3 separate regions of the Homo sapiens genome follow, and regions 1 and 3 are each linked to region 2. The links are contacts of gene promoters, found by promoter capture Hi-C in blood cells and fetal thymus (Javierre and others, 2016). All regions are on one chromosome and are shown on one strand. The core of a region is centred on a gene start or on the middle of the fragment in contact, and the rest is flanking DNA. Distances in the headings are between cores, read along the strand shown.

Evidence for each region. The method cuts DNA at HindIII sites, captures the fragments that hold promoters and counts their contacts. A CHiCAGO score of 5 or more calls a contact.
Region 1: a fragment that was not itself captured here is called in contact with the fragment with the promoter of ANAPC10 in region 2 in 5 of 17 cell types (total CD4 T cells, non-activated CD4 T cells, M2 macrophages and 2 more); the score reaches 8.8 in total CD4 T cells.
Region 3: a fragment that was not itself captured here is called in contact with the fragment with the promoter of ANAPC10 in region 2 in 1 of 17 cell types (fetal thymus); the score reaches 5.4 in fetal thymus.

What each region holds. Positions count from the first base shown.
Region 1 is chr4:147,622,689-147,626,597 of GRCh38, forward strand. It overlaps TMEM184C (transmembrane protein 184C), which reads left to right. Exons shown (of 10, transcript NM_018241.3): 2 at 1,146-1,276; 3 at 1,374-1,410; 4 at 2,116-2,321. Among named protein-coding and RNA genes, the nearest start is that of TMEM184C, 7.2 kb to the left of the region's middle. The HindIII fragment of the contact is 1,834 bases long and covers 344-2,177 here.
Region 2 is chr4:145,096,655-145,100,725 of GRCh38, forward strand. ANAPC10 (anaphase promoting complex subunit 10) reads right to left here and starts at 1,542. Exons shown (of 5, transcript NM_001256706.2): 1 at 1,466-1,542. ABCE1 (ATP binding cassette subfamily E member 1) reads left to right here and starts at 1,657. Exons shown (of 18, transcript NM_002940.3): 1 at 1,657-1,765. RefSeq lists enhancers at 797-1,668, 916-2,115, 1,249-1,298, 1,379-1,638, 1,669-2,540 and 1 more. The HindIII fragment of the contact is 4,584 bases long and covers 1-2,593 here.
Region 3 is chr4:147,864,967-147,868,735 of GRCh38, forward strand. It overlaps ARHGAP10 (Rho GTPase activating protein 10), which reads left to right. Exons shown (of 23, transcript NM_024605.4): 7 at 1,746-1,850. Among named protein-coding and RNA genes, the nearest start is that of MIR4799, 84 kb to the left of the region's middle. RefSeq lists enhancers at 1,832-2,509, 2,510-3,186 and silencers at 1,939-2,163, 1,962-2,011. The HindIII fragment of the contact is 229 bases long and covers 1,864-2,092 here.

The sequences.
Region 1 (3,909 bases), core at 11-2,510, 2.5 Mb after region 2:
ACGTCCATATATTTGCTTTTCATTTACTGTTTGATTAACGCCCCCACAATCAGTAAGACTTTGTATTAGCTTTTGGTTTGTTTTTGTTTTTGAGACAGGGTCTCACTCTGTTGCCCAGGGTGGAGTACGGTGGCACAAATCATGGCTCACTGTAGCCTTGAACTCCTGGGCTCAAGCAGATCTCCCACCTCAGTCTTCCTAGTAGGTAGGACTACAGGCACATGCTTCCACGCCTCGCTAATTTATTTTTTGTAGAGATGGCATCTCGCCATGTTGCTCAGGCTGGGCTGGATGGAACCCCTGGGCTCAAGCAATCATGAGCCACCTCACTCAGCCCTTTTCAAGCTTTCTATACATTTTAATGTGGAAATTTGTTGTTGTAAAAATGCATTTGTTCTCCATACTTTTGTTTTCTACCTCTTTTATCTTTGGCCCCTGGTAGAGGAAGAAAAAGTCCTGTTCAAACAGTGAAACTGGGCCGTGCACGGTGGCTCATGCCTGTAATCCCAGCACTTCAGGAGGCGGAGGCGGACGGATCACTTGAAGTCAGGAGTTCCAGACCAGGCTGGCCAACAGGGCGAAACCCCATCTCTACTAAAAATACAAAAAAATTAGCTGGGTGTGTAATCCCAGCTATTTGGGAGGCTGAGGCAGGAGAATCGCTTGAACCCCGGAGGCAGAGGTTGCAGTGAGCCAAGATCGCGCCGCTGTACTCCAGCCTGGGCAACAGAGCAAAACTGTCTCAAAAAAAAAAAAAGAAAAAGAAAAGAAACAGTGATACTTAAGGTTGTAGACCTTAGTTCTATTTTAATTGTAAACTGCTCAACCCTTCAAGCATCAAAAATAAATGCCCACCTTTTCCCCTTAAAAAAAAAAAAAGATTCATACTCTTCAAGGCAAGATTACAAGTTAATATAAAAGTCCCCCCTCCCCCACAAATTTTTTTCAATTTTTTAATTTTTTTTTTTTGTAGTGACGGGTTCTCACTTTGTAGGCCCAGGCTGGTTTCAAACTCCTGGCCTCAAGCGATCCTCCCACCTCGGCCTCCCCAAGTGCTAGGATTATAGGCACAAGGCACTGAGCCTGGCCAAGCTCTTTTGTTTTAATATCAGAATTTATATTAACATGTTATTTTGTTTCTTAAGGTTGGAATACACACCAAGGCTTGGTTTATTGCTGGAATCTTTTTGCTGTTGACTATTCCTATATCACTGTGGGTGATATTGCAACACTTAGTGCATTATACACAACCTGAACTACAAAAACCAATAATAAGGTATGTCTTAATAATTTTGATTCCACTACTGTTGTGTTGGCTTATTTCATAAATATGACATAAAATGTTTTAAATTTCTGTTTTCCTTTTCCAATAGGATTCTTTGGATGGTACCTATTTACAGTTTAGATAGTGTAAGTATGTTTCATTTTTATCTCATTAACTAAGGACTTGTTTGATGATACTATAATTACAGAATGCTTAAGATAATGAAAGTATGTTATTGACAAGGAGTCAGATTAATAAGTAAAAAGGTTCACTTGTTTCTAATGATAGAGAATATAAAGTATAATTAAAAATGTAAAATGTTATATTATAAATGTTTAAAAATCTATAGCTGTTTGCTTTCTTTTAAACTTTCAGATTGTTAAAGAATGTAATATTTTAAATTAATATACTACTCTTTTTATTTATTACGTCTTTTATTTGAATCAAAAATTTAAAAACCTTCCCCAGTGGATACACATGAAATTGTTGTAGATGACTGCTTCTAATATGAGTAAATATTAAAGGAAATATCTTTAGCAGCATTATCTATGATCATATTAAGAAAAACTTCAGATTTAAGAACACAAGTACTTACTTTAGCTTCTCTCTTTATTCATTATTTACCCCTCAAACACTTGTTTTTGTTTACCAATATCTAAGATGTTTATTGCTTTTAAGCATTCATTTCACAGATTGATAGCCCTCATAATGATAAATTTTAGAGAGTCCCATGTAAGTATATGACAAGACATCTCAAGCATAAAAATTAGCTTATTGTGAGTACCATGAATGGAGTGGTGATTCATTTTATCTTAGCTGCAACTATCTTTAACATCTGTGCTTTTTCATAGTGGATAGCTTTGAAATATCCCGGAATTGCAATATATGTGGATACCTGCAGAGAATGCTATGAAGCTTATGTAATTTACAACTTTATGGGATTCCTTACCAATTATCTAACTAACCGGTATCCAAATCTGGTATTAATCCTTGAAGCCAAAGATCAACAGAAACATTTCCCTCCTTTATGTTGCTGTCCACCATGGGCTATGGGAGAGTAAGTATGTTTGGTTTAATTCTTTTATGTTTTGGTTTTTCATTTAAGCAGAGTTTTTAAGTAGCAATCAGCTCTTTACAAGGCAGTGCATTAAGTATTAATAGCAGAACAATAAGTATAAGACAGCTCCTGATGCAGTTCATAGTTGTTTGAAGGCTAACAAAACAGTTTTGTAATCCCACATATATGTTAGTCTTTTTTACATTATTAATCCCAAATCCAAAAATTAAAGTATTGCAGGTAAAAACAGTAATCATTTAATCAATATGCTTTTGCAGTTGAGAACCAAGGTCTGCAGATCTTATGTAAGAACACACAGCTAGTTAAAAGACATAGACAAGATAATGTAGGTTGTAGAACCACATATGATATGAAGTAGGAGCAATAAGTAACAGTGTTTGGTAACATAATACATCAGCTTGCCTTATTATATGTTCATGTAGGACATTAAAACTTATGTCATTTCATTTTGAAAAATAAATTGAGTTTACAATTGCATTTATTATAGAAATGAACCACTTGGTATTTTTCAGCAAGCAAACATTTGGAAACAGTGTTTTAGAAAGATTAATTTTGCAATATCATAAAGGATGAATTGGAAGGAAGAAGATTCCAGAGATGGAGAAATAAATTAGGAGTTTATAATAATCTATTTGTGAAATAAAACTGAAAAGGGGGATGAGATTGGAATAGAAAAGAAAGGCAATAAGAGAATGCAACTGAAAAATCAATAGGACATGTCCACTAATGCAACCGCCCAAGGGGTTCACTTTGCCAGCCACCTAGACAGAACCGATTCATCAAGACGGGAATTGCAAAAGATAAAGAGTAATTCAGACAGAGCCAGCTGTGCGGGAGACAGGAGTTTTATTATTACTCAAATCAGTCTCCCTAGGCATTCGGGGAGCAGAGTTTTAAGGATAATTTGCTGGGTAGGGGGAAGCCAGTGAGCCATGAGTGCTGATTGGAGAGAGGTGAAATCATAGGGAGTCAAAGCTGTCCACTTATACTGAGTCAGTTCCTGGGTGGGGGCCACAAGGTGAGATGAGCCCGTTTATTGATCTGGGTGGTGCCAGCTGATTCAACAAATGCAGGGTCTGCAAAATATCACAAGCACTGATCTTAGGAGCAGTTTAGGGAGGGCCAGAATCTTGTAGCCTCCAGCTGCATGACTCCTAAACCATAATTTCTAATCTTATGGCTAATGTTAGTCCTACAAAGGCAATCTAGTCCCCAGGCAAGGAGGTTTGCTTTGGGGCAGGGCTATTTCTATAGCTTTGGGAGAAACTATAAACTAAGTTTCTCTCAAAGTTAGTTCAGCCTACGCCCAGGAATGAACAAGGACAGCTTGGAGGTTAGACACAAGATGGAGTCGGTTTAAGTTATCTCTTTCACTGTCTCAGTCATAATTTTGCAAAGGCAGTTTCACTAATAAATGAGGAATAAGGTGGAAGTTACAAGCCAAGGTAAATGGAGGTAGAGTGATCAGTGTAGACATACAACATAAGAATGGGTGCATTGCCTCCTATGCAGTACAGGACCATTTGTACAACGTCCTGACAAATTTTGTCTCTATTTACACCCTTGA
Region 2 (4,071 bases), core at 292-2,791:
AAGTCAGACTGAAATACTTTTATTCTAGGAATATATAAATATTGATCCTCATTTTATTTACTTAATTCCTTTTTTTTTAGAGACAGGATCTAGCTATGTTACCCAGGCTGGTCTTGAACACCTTGCTTCAAGCGATCCTCCCACCTCAGCCTCCCAAGTAGCTGGGATTACAGGTGTGATCCCATCACCCCACTAAGATCCTCATTTTAAATATTCATTGAGTGATGCAGAGAACAGTCATACCTGCCCTCTAGCTGTCAAAAGTTTTATTTAAGACCCAGCCCGGTGGCTCACACCTGTAATCCCAGCAGTTTGGGAGGCCAAGGCAGGTGGATTGCTTGAGCCCAGGAGTTCGAGACCAGCCTGGAATATGGTGAAACCCTGTCTCTAAAAAAATTCCAAAAAATCAGCCTGGTGTGGCGGCACACACCTGTAGTCCCAGGGGGGCTGAGACAGGAGGATCACCTGAACTGGGAGGCGGAGGTTGCAGTGAGCCGAGATCGTGCTACTGCACTCCAGCCTGCGTAACAGAGCAAGACACTGTCCCAAAAAGCACAAAAATAAGAAAAAAATGTTAAAAGTTCACTTACATATGCTCTTACCATAGAAGATAAGGTCAGGAAAATGGCTTCAAGATTTTGAAGTGAATAACTGGCCCATTCTAAAAAGGTTGACCTCATCTTTCACATCTTTTGTTAATTTTACTAAGTCTATTCATATGTGAAAAAACACTTCAATACTGGATCGTGAACAATATGTAAAACTGCTTTGGTAGCGCAGTTACTGCTACTGAACATTGTTATATATGCTATTCAAAATAGGTGCAATAGTTCTGCATACCGTTTCCTTGACACCTCCCATTGTATCCGAAGTTGTTCTTTAATCGGCACACAAGCACTTGATACTTACTAAATAACGGCAGACACAACGGACTGTAAACTTTGGCAAGGCCTGAGGCTTAAACGCTCAATAAGTAATTTACTGAATGAATAAACAGATGAATAGGTTCAGTTATGAACTAGTTGTCACTTGCCTGCAAGTTAGGTGAGATCTAGGGCGAGACTATTCAACCTGCAACCATCATTACTAACTGAATGTCCTGTTACCTAAAAAAAGATAGAAATAAAGCCCATCTTTAGGGCAGAATTCAACTGCCGGACTTGGGACTGGACGCCACCAAGTGGATAAAATATGGAGCTCGGAAAAGATTGGATTCCCGGCCCTGAACTGACCACACAGTTGAGAGGAAGTTGAGGCCTAGAAGAGCGCGCAACAGTAAGCCGTGTCGGCACCAGACTCTGTTGGTCCTACTGACACCTCCAGCGTTAGAATGACTAAGGCTCCACTCCTGACCCACCGGCCTTGAGGAAAGCGCAAACGTAAAAAAAGATTGAAACCGGAGAGGCGAATGCATCTGTTTACGCTAGGACCACGCTCGACGTCGGAGAAAAGCCCACACACTCACAGTTTCCAGACCTGGCTGCTTGCCGAAACTCAGATTCTCGGCACCTCCAGCAGCTGGCTTCGCCAACGGCGTTGAACAAGGGTCGCAGCTCAATGACGTCATATCTCCCTACCTACCTCCAGGGTTCCGCCTCACGCTCTATGTCGCGCGCGCGCACTACGTCCTATGGCTTGCGCGTGCGGCGGCTGGGCACCGCCATTTTGGCCGGTGGCCGTGAGAACACGCTGTGTGGCTGAAAAGTGAAGGCAAGAGCTGATTTGGCCTCTGTGCTCCCCTCCGCAAGGGGATCGTTTTCTCCAGGTACGTGAATAGCCCGGAGAGGTTTGGCCGTTAGCTGCCATCTGCCAGGTTGGAAAGAATGTAGGGACGTTCTCCGAGAGCCTTTGGTTAGGCCTTAGGTGGCGGAGACAGCAGCAGCGCGTGGCAGCGGTTCCTGCGGGACAGCTGGAACTGATGGAGCGCGGGCGACGCCGAGAGCTTGGGGGCGCCTCGGTCTTCCCCTCCAGCCGACCCGGCTGTCGCCGCTGTTGCCTGCCACACCCGCGAGGGACTTCGAGAATGGACCTAGATGCCGTAGTCTCCACTCCCCCTTTACCCCACTCCCGCCCTGAAGCTAAACCTGCTGGAGAGGAAGGCACCTTTAGAACTTACAGCACTCTCTAGTACCCCCACACTCCTCCAGCACCCAAAATGGATATATTGTCACATGTGCATATTTGGTTGTGGGAAGTCGTGGCTTCCACGTTTTGTTGAGTGGAATGAGTCATGGCATCTTGCCGCCATGAAGTCGAATACTCGCTGTCCACTCCCAGGCTTTATAGAAATGATGCCCACATGTCACTCTGCTTTTCTCAGAACAGCGTGTACGCAGCTATGACTGGGGTTGTCCCAAGTAGTTTCCCAGTAGAAATCCTATAGTTTTTTTGGTACGCTTTTGTAGCACTAGGCACTTTCTCCCCTTACCCGTTTTTCCTTTTATTGTATCTAATACTCATTGAGATCAAGGTTGATGTCTTTACTCAGAATACCTTTATTATCTCTTCAGGGCTTCGTACATTGTAGGCATTTAATACGTATTGTGAATGAATGACAGCCAAAGCCGAATTCCCACCTCCCATTAACTACATAAGCTTATTTTCTCTTTTTTGATGGTAAAAATCTATAAGAGGAAGAACTGTCCAAATAACATGTTTTATTTTTTTACTCTTTCCCAACAGGACTGCTAACTAGTCATTTATGATAGTGGCATTTATGTTGCAGTAGTTTGTCCCATATTCTGAGAATATTCATTGTATACCAGCCACCTGACACTAATACTTTGTTAGTGTAACCAAAGGCTCAGAACCTGTATTTGAACCAAAAGCTGTTTGGGGTTTGTGAGCTTTTTGAGAACTTAGTTCTCCCCTATTTTAAAAAAGGGAGTTTTTTTGTTTGTTTGTTTGTTGGAAGAGCATCTAACAATTGGGAGAGAGGGGGAGAAAACAATATTAAGTTAGAGTTCTTCTAAATGTCTTAAACTTAAAACTCTTTGAAATCAGAGCCGTGTACCACTCCTAACTTCTACGTGTTTTGTAAGACTAATAAACTACAATAAGCATGGGTTAGACTATTTCATGTGATACTAAACATCATTAGTTAACAGCAGTCTTTGAAATGCTTTTACACAGCGTTACAATTATTTTGGCTTTAGACTGTAAATGCTTCTAAGTATTCCTCACTTCCTTTTTTCCTCTCAGCTGTAAGAATGACACTGAGGGTCATTGTTCTAGTGTCAATTTTGAACACTTTTGTCTTCGAATCTGAAATATCCGCAAATCCTTCTTTGTTTGCAGGAGCCTGTTAACTATAATCTTCCTCTCCAAGCTTTACTGTGCCTAGGTTTTCTATTGAAAAACAAGTAGGGAATCCCCTTGCCCCAATTATTGAAACTGATACAGAAATTGAATTAAAAGTGTTCACACAGTTAATTAACAGTTCTACAAAGAATCCATGTTCATTTTTCTTAAATGCATTACAATTTATCACTATTTTTATATAAATCAGTTTATTAACCACTTCTGGTATGTTTTTATTCTACTGTAAAAATCAAGCCAGGGTAGTGACATGCACCTATAGTCCCAGCTATTCGGGAGGCTAAAGCAAGAGGATCCCTTGAGCCCAGGAGTCCCAGTCTGTAGTGTCCTGTGATCACTGCCCTCAGCCAGGACACCATAGCAAGATCCCTGTGTCTTTTTAAAAAATTGTCTTTTACAGTCTTTTGGTTTTTAAAATAGTTTGAAAAATTAAATATTTTAGTAGTTTAACAGAAATAAAGTTTAAGCAATTTCGTGGTGATTTATCCCCTGGAGGGGAATTCATTATGCTCTTTCACTGAGTAATTGTAGAAAGGCATTCAGTATTTAAATTAGAATGCATGGTGTCCAGTTTTAATAGCTTGCTGAAGAATCTTCATTTCCTAGGAAGTTGTCATTTCCCGAATAATAGCTTTTTTGTGACAATTCAAGCCATCTAATTTCTTCCTCTTCTAATCTTTACAAGACCTGGACCAGTTTTTAGAGGAATAGAGTCAACCTGTTTATTGGAATAACCCTGTACTTATTACATGA
Region 3 (3,769 bases), core at 728-3,227, 2.8 Mb after region 2:
CCAAGTTGTTTGCTGGTGGATTTTTGCAATGTAAGATAAGTATTTATTTTCCTAGATCTGATTTATGGTTTATAGTTACTAGAGGCCATAGTGCATAAACATGAAAGAGACATATTAAAAAGGGCAGACACAGATAGCCATGAAGTCAAGGAATTGCCTCTAAATCAGTGGTTCTCAGCTGTATTTGCACTGATAATACACGTAATATTCCCATTGCTACATGATCTCAAGGAAGGCAACCATGTGCAATTTCTGCCACCTTAGCCTATAGCTCTATCTTTTAAAAATTTCTCTGAAATAATTTATACTAGAATGAGTGAACATGGGTTGTTTATACCGGTTCAAACTTTGGTACTTTAAACAATCGTTTGTAACATGACTTCAAACACAATTCACAATGCTTATGGCAATCTAAGTTTAGAAGCAGGATATGGAACATTTGAGACAATTTTGTGAGTTACTCTAACATTTCTTTTTACTTATATTAGAAACACATGATTTTTGTTTGTGATTATATAGATGTTTTCTAGTAGCTTCAGTTGTTTATATATGAAGATGTATGCACATGAATGTATATATCATAATGTAAAGGATATTTCATGTGGATTTCAGCAAAAAAACACTGGATCTCATTCTCAGGATTCATTTTAATTTTAATATCGACTTATTGAATGGTTTCTTTTTCTTAAACAGCTTTATTAAGATAATATTCACACAGTATACAATTTACTCATTGTGAGTATGGTTTATAGAAACAAGAATAACCAAGTAATGATTAAAAATGAGCATTTGTGGAGCTATGGTTTAGTTGGAGCGATAGTCATTAACCTAAACCATTAGAGAAAAACTCAACCTCCTCAAAGCTTTCTTTTTAATGTGAAATAATAATAATGGCCTGCTTTTATTGGGCATTTATAATGCTCAGTCTCTGTTCAAGCCATTGTTCTAAGTGTTGTACCGAACTCATTATTCCACACTATAACTCAATGAGGAGATAAGGAAATAGAAGTAGAGAAAGGCTGAGTAATTTGCCTAAGGTCCCATAACAGGTCATGGCTGACGTTGGGAATGGAGCCTGCTGGGTGTCAGAGCCCCAGATTCCTAACCACCCACGGTGTGGCATTTGGAAGAAAATGAATCTCAAGATTTCCTTAACTGTCTCCCCAGATCACTTCTTTTTACTTCTAGATTTATTGACTTACATGTGGAGCAGAGGCAACAGCCCTCTAATTCAGAGACAGGTTGGGAGTTGGTAGGAAAGTAAAGGTTTAATTACGGGTTTGAGGCTGCCCCTGGCAAGTCATGGAATATCTTTGTCAACAAAACACAGGGGTTGCAGTCTGCTGGATGTGGCTGGGGAGAGCCTGGAGCTCTTTGATTCTGTGATTTTACTTTCTTAAAGATTGTGTCAACCTATAGTGATAAGATTTCAATTACAAATATTGGGATTCTCCTGACTAAAGAGGACAAATGGATGACTTAATAATTCAATTTTTCCTGCAGAACATGCCATATAAGCTGTCTAATGGCTGTGATATTTAAGGGAAAAAAGCATCATTTTCTATAAAGACCAATTAATAGATAATATGTACTTGTGTTTACTTGAATATTAGTGACTTCCCTTTAATCAGTTTATTTCAGTGGAATAACAGTGAGATGGCGGGGGGAACACTTGGTTGTTTATATGATTCTTTTTTTCTCCTGAGTTTTTTTGTGCTAATATCTCTTTTCTTCCTGTGTCTTAGATGCTGTCATTTTTTCAGGGGATGTTTACCTTCTATCATCAGGGCCATGAACTTGCCAAAGACTTCAATCACTACAAAATGGAACTACAGATCAACATTCAGAATGTAAGGAAGTGAAAGCTTTCTTTATAAAAAGATGTTTGAAAAGTATTTTTCATTTGTGTGTTGTATGAAAAGCCTTAATTAAATGAAGACAATGCTGATCTGTTTGTACTGAGAAACTGAGGGTATGCTGCCACCTGCTGGTCAACTCTTGGTGTGACCAACTGCTCTACAGTTGGTTGAGGCTTGGGAAATTCTGCCACCTGGCGGCTTTTCCTGCAGTTTCTGGGTCAATTCTAAGGATAAGCTTTGTTATGTTAACTCTAAATCAGCTATGTCTGCTACAGACAAAAGAGCACTCCACTTTAAGGCATTGAATTTATAATGCACTACTTAACTGGGCATCTTGATTTTTGTTCCCAGATAGGCTTATCATTTGAGTAGAATTTCTTCCCTACATTTTATGCATATTTACTAATGCATTGGTGTTTACAGTTGCTATTGGTCTTGAATATTTTCCTTTGGAAAATGTGTGCTTTCTGCCAGGTCTCGGATAAAGAGATTTAGGAGAATGTTATTAAGCAGTACACTATATGTCATTTTGATCAGGTGGTATATGTTTTTCCTCTCAGTGCTAGTTGATCCTGGAAGCGTCCTCACTGACAAGCTGGTCAGGGTATGTTGAGTGTAATTTGAGGTCTCATTAGGAATGTAGTGAGATAGCTTTGTGACAGACTCACAGCACATAGTGAAAGACACACAGGTAGATGGATGGGAAGCTGTGGTTGTTGCCTGCTCTTCATTTCTTTCACAATTAGAAGTTGAGAGTGGGCCGGGCACAGTGGTTCATGCCTGTAATCCCAGCACTTTGGGAGGCCTAGGCGGGCAGATCGCGAGGTCAAGAGATTGAGACCATGCTGGCCAACATGGTGAAACCCTGTCTCCACTAAAAATACAAACATTAGCTGGGTGTGGTGGAGTGCGCCTGTAATCCCAGTTACTCGGGAGGCTGAGGCAGGAGAATTGCTTGAATCCGGGAGGTGGAGGTTGCAGTGATCCGAGACCGTGCCACTGCACTCCAGCCTGGGCGACAGAGTGAGACTCTGTCTCAAAAAAAAAAAAAAAAAAAAAAAGTTGAGAGTGAATACCTTTTGTGTAGATTTTGTTTCTAACTTTTTTTTTTTTTTATGTACAGTTCCTTATACTAAGGAGTGTAGCTGATAAAACCTTATTTTTATAATTTATGTGTCAACTTGTATTTGAGGATTGTTTGGACATTCAGCTGGGCTAATGATAGAGTTCTGGAGTAGATTCTTTTTCTGCTGCTGTGGTCTCACAATTTGTGAAAACAGTTATAAAATATGTGGTATGACTATAATGTGACAAAACTTAAAAATCCAAAATGGGTATGTGTGGATTCATTCTAGTCACCCCAAAATTGTCCCTGCAGGTAGTAGAATATTGAGTCTAATGTTGTTGAGTTTTTTTTGTTTTTTTTTTTGAGACAGGGTGTCACTCTGTCGCTGAGGCTGAAGTGCAGTGGCACAACCACTGCTCACTGCAGCCTCAACCTCCTAGGCTCAAGTACTCCTCCTGCCTCAGCCTCCTGAGTAGCTGGGACTGCAGGTGCATGCCAGCACACCCAGCTAATTTTTTTTCTTTTTGGTAGAGATGGCATCTCATTGTGTTGCCCAGGCTGCTCAAACTTCAGGGTTCAAGTGATCCTCCTTCCTCAGCCTCCCAAGATCCTGGCATTACGGGGGTGAGCCACCATGCCTGGCTGATGTTGAGATTATTCAGAATATTTTTGCAGGCAGCAGAAAACAGTTATGTAAAAAGAACAGTAGATAGTTCACGTAAGTGGTCCCCAACCTTTTTGGCACCGGGGACTGGTTTTAAGGAAGACAATTCTATAGATGCAGTGGGGGTGGGAGAAGGTAGGGGATGGTTTCGTGATGAAACTTTTCCACCTCAGGTCATCA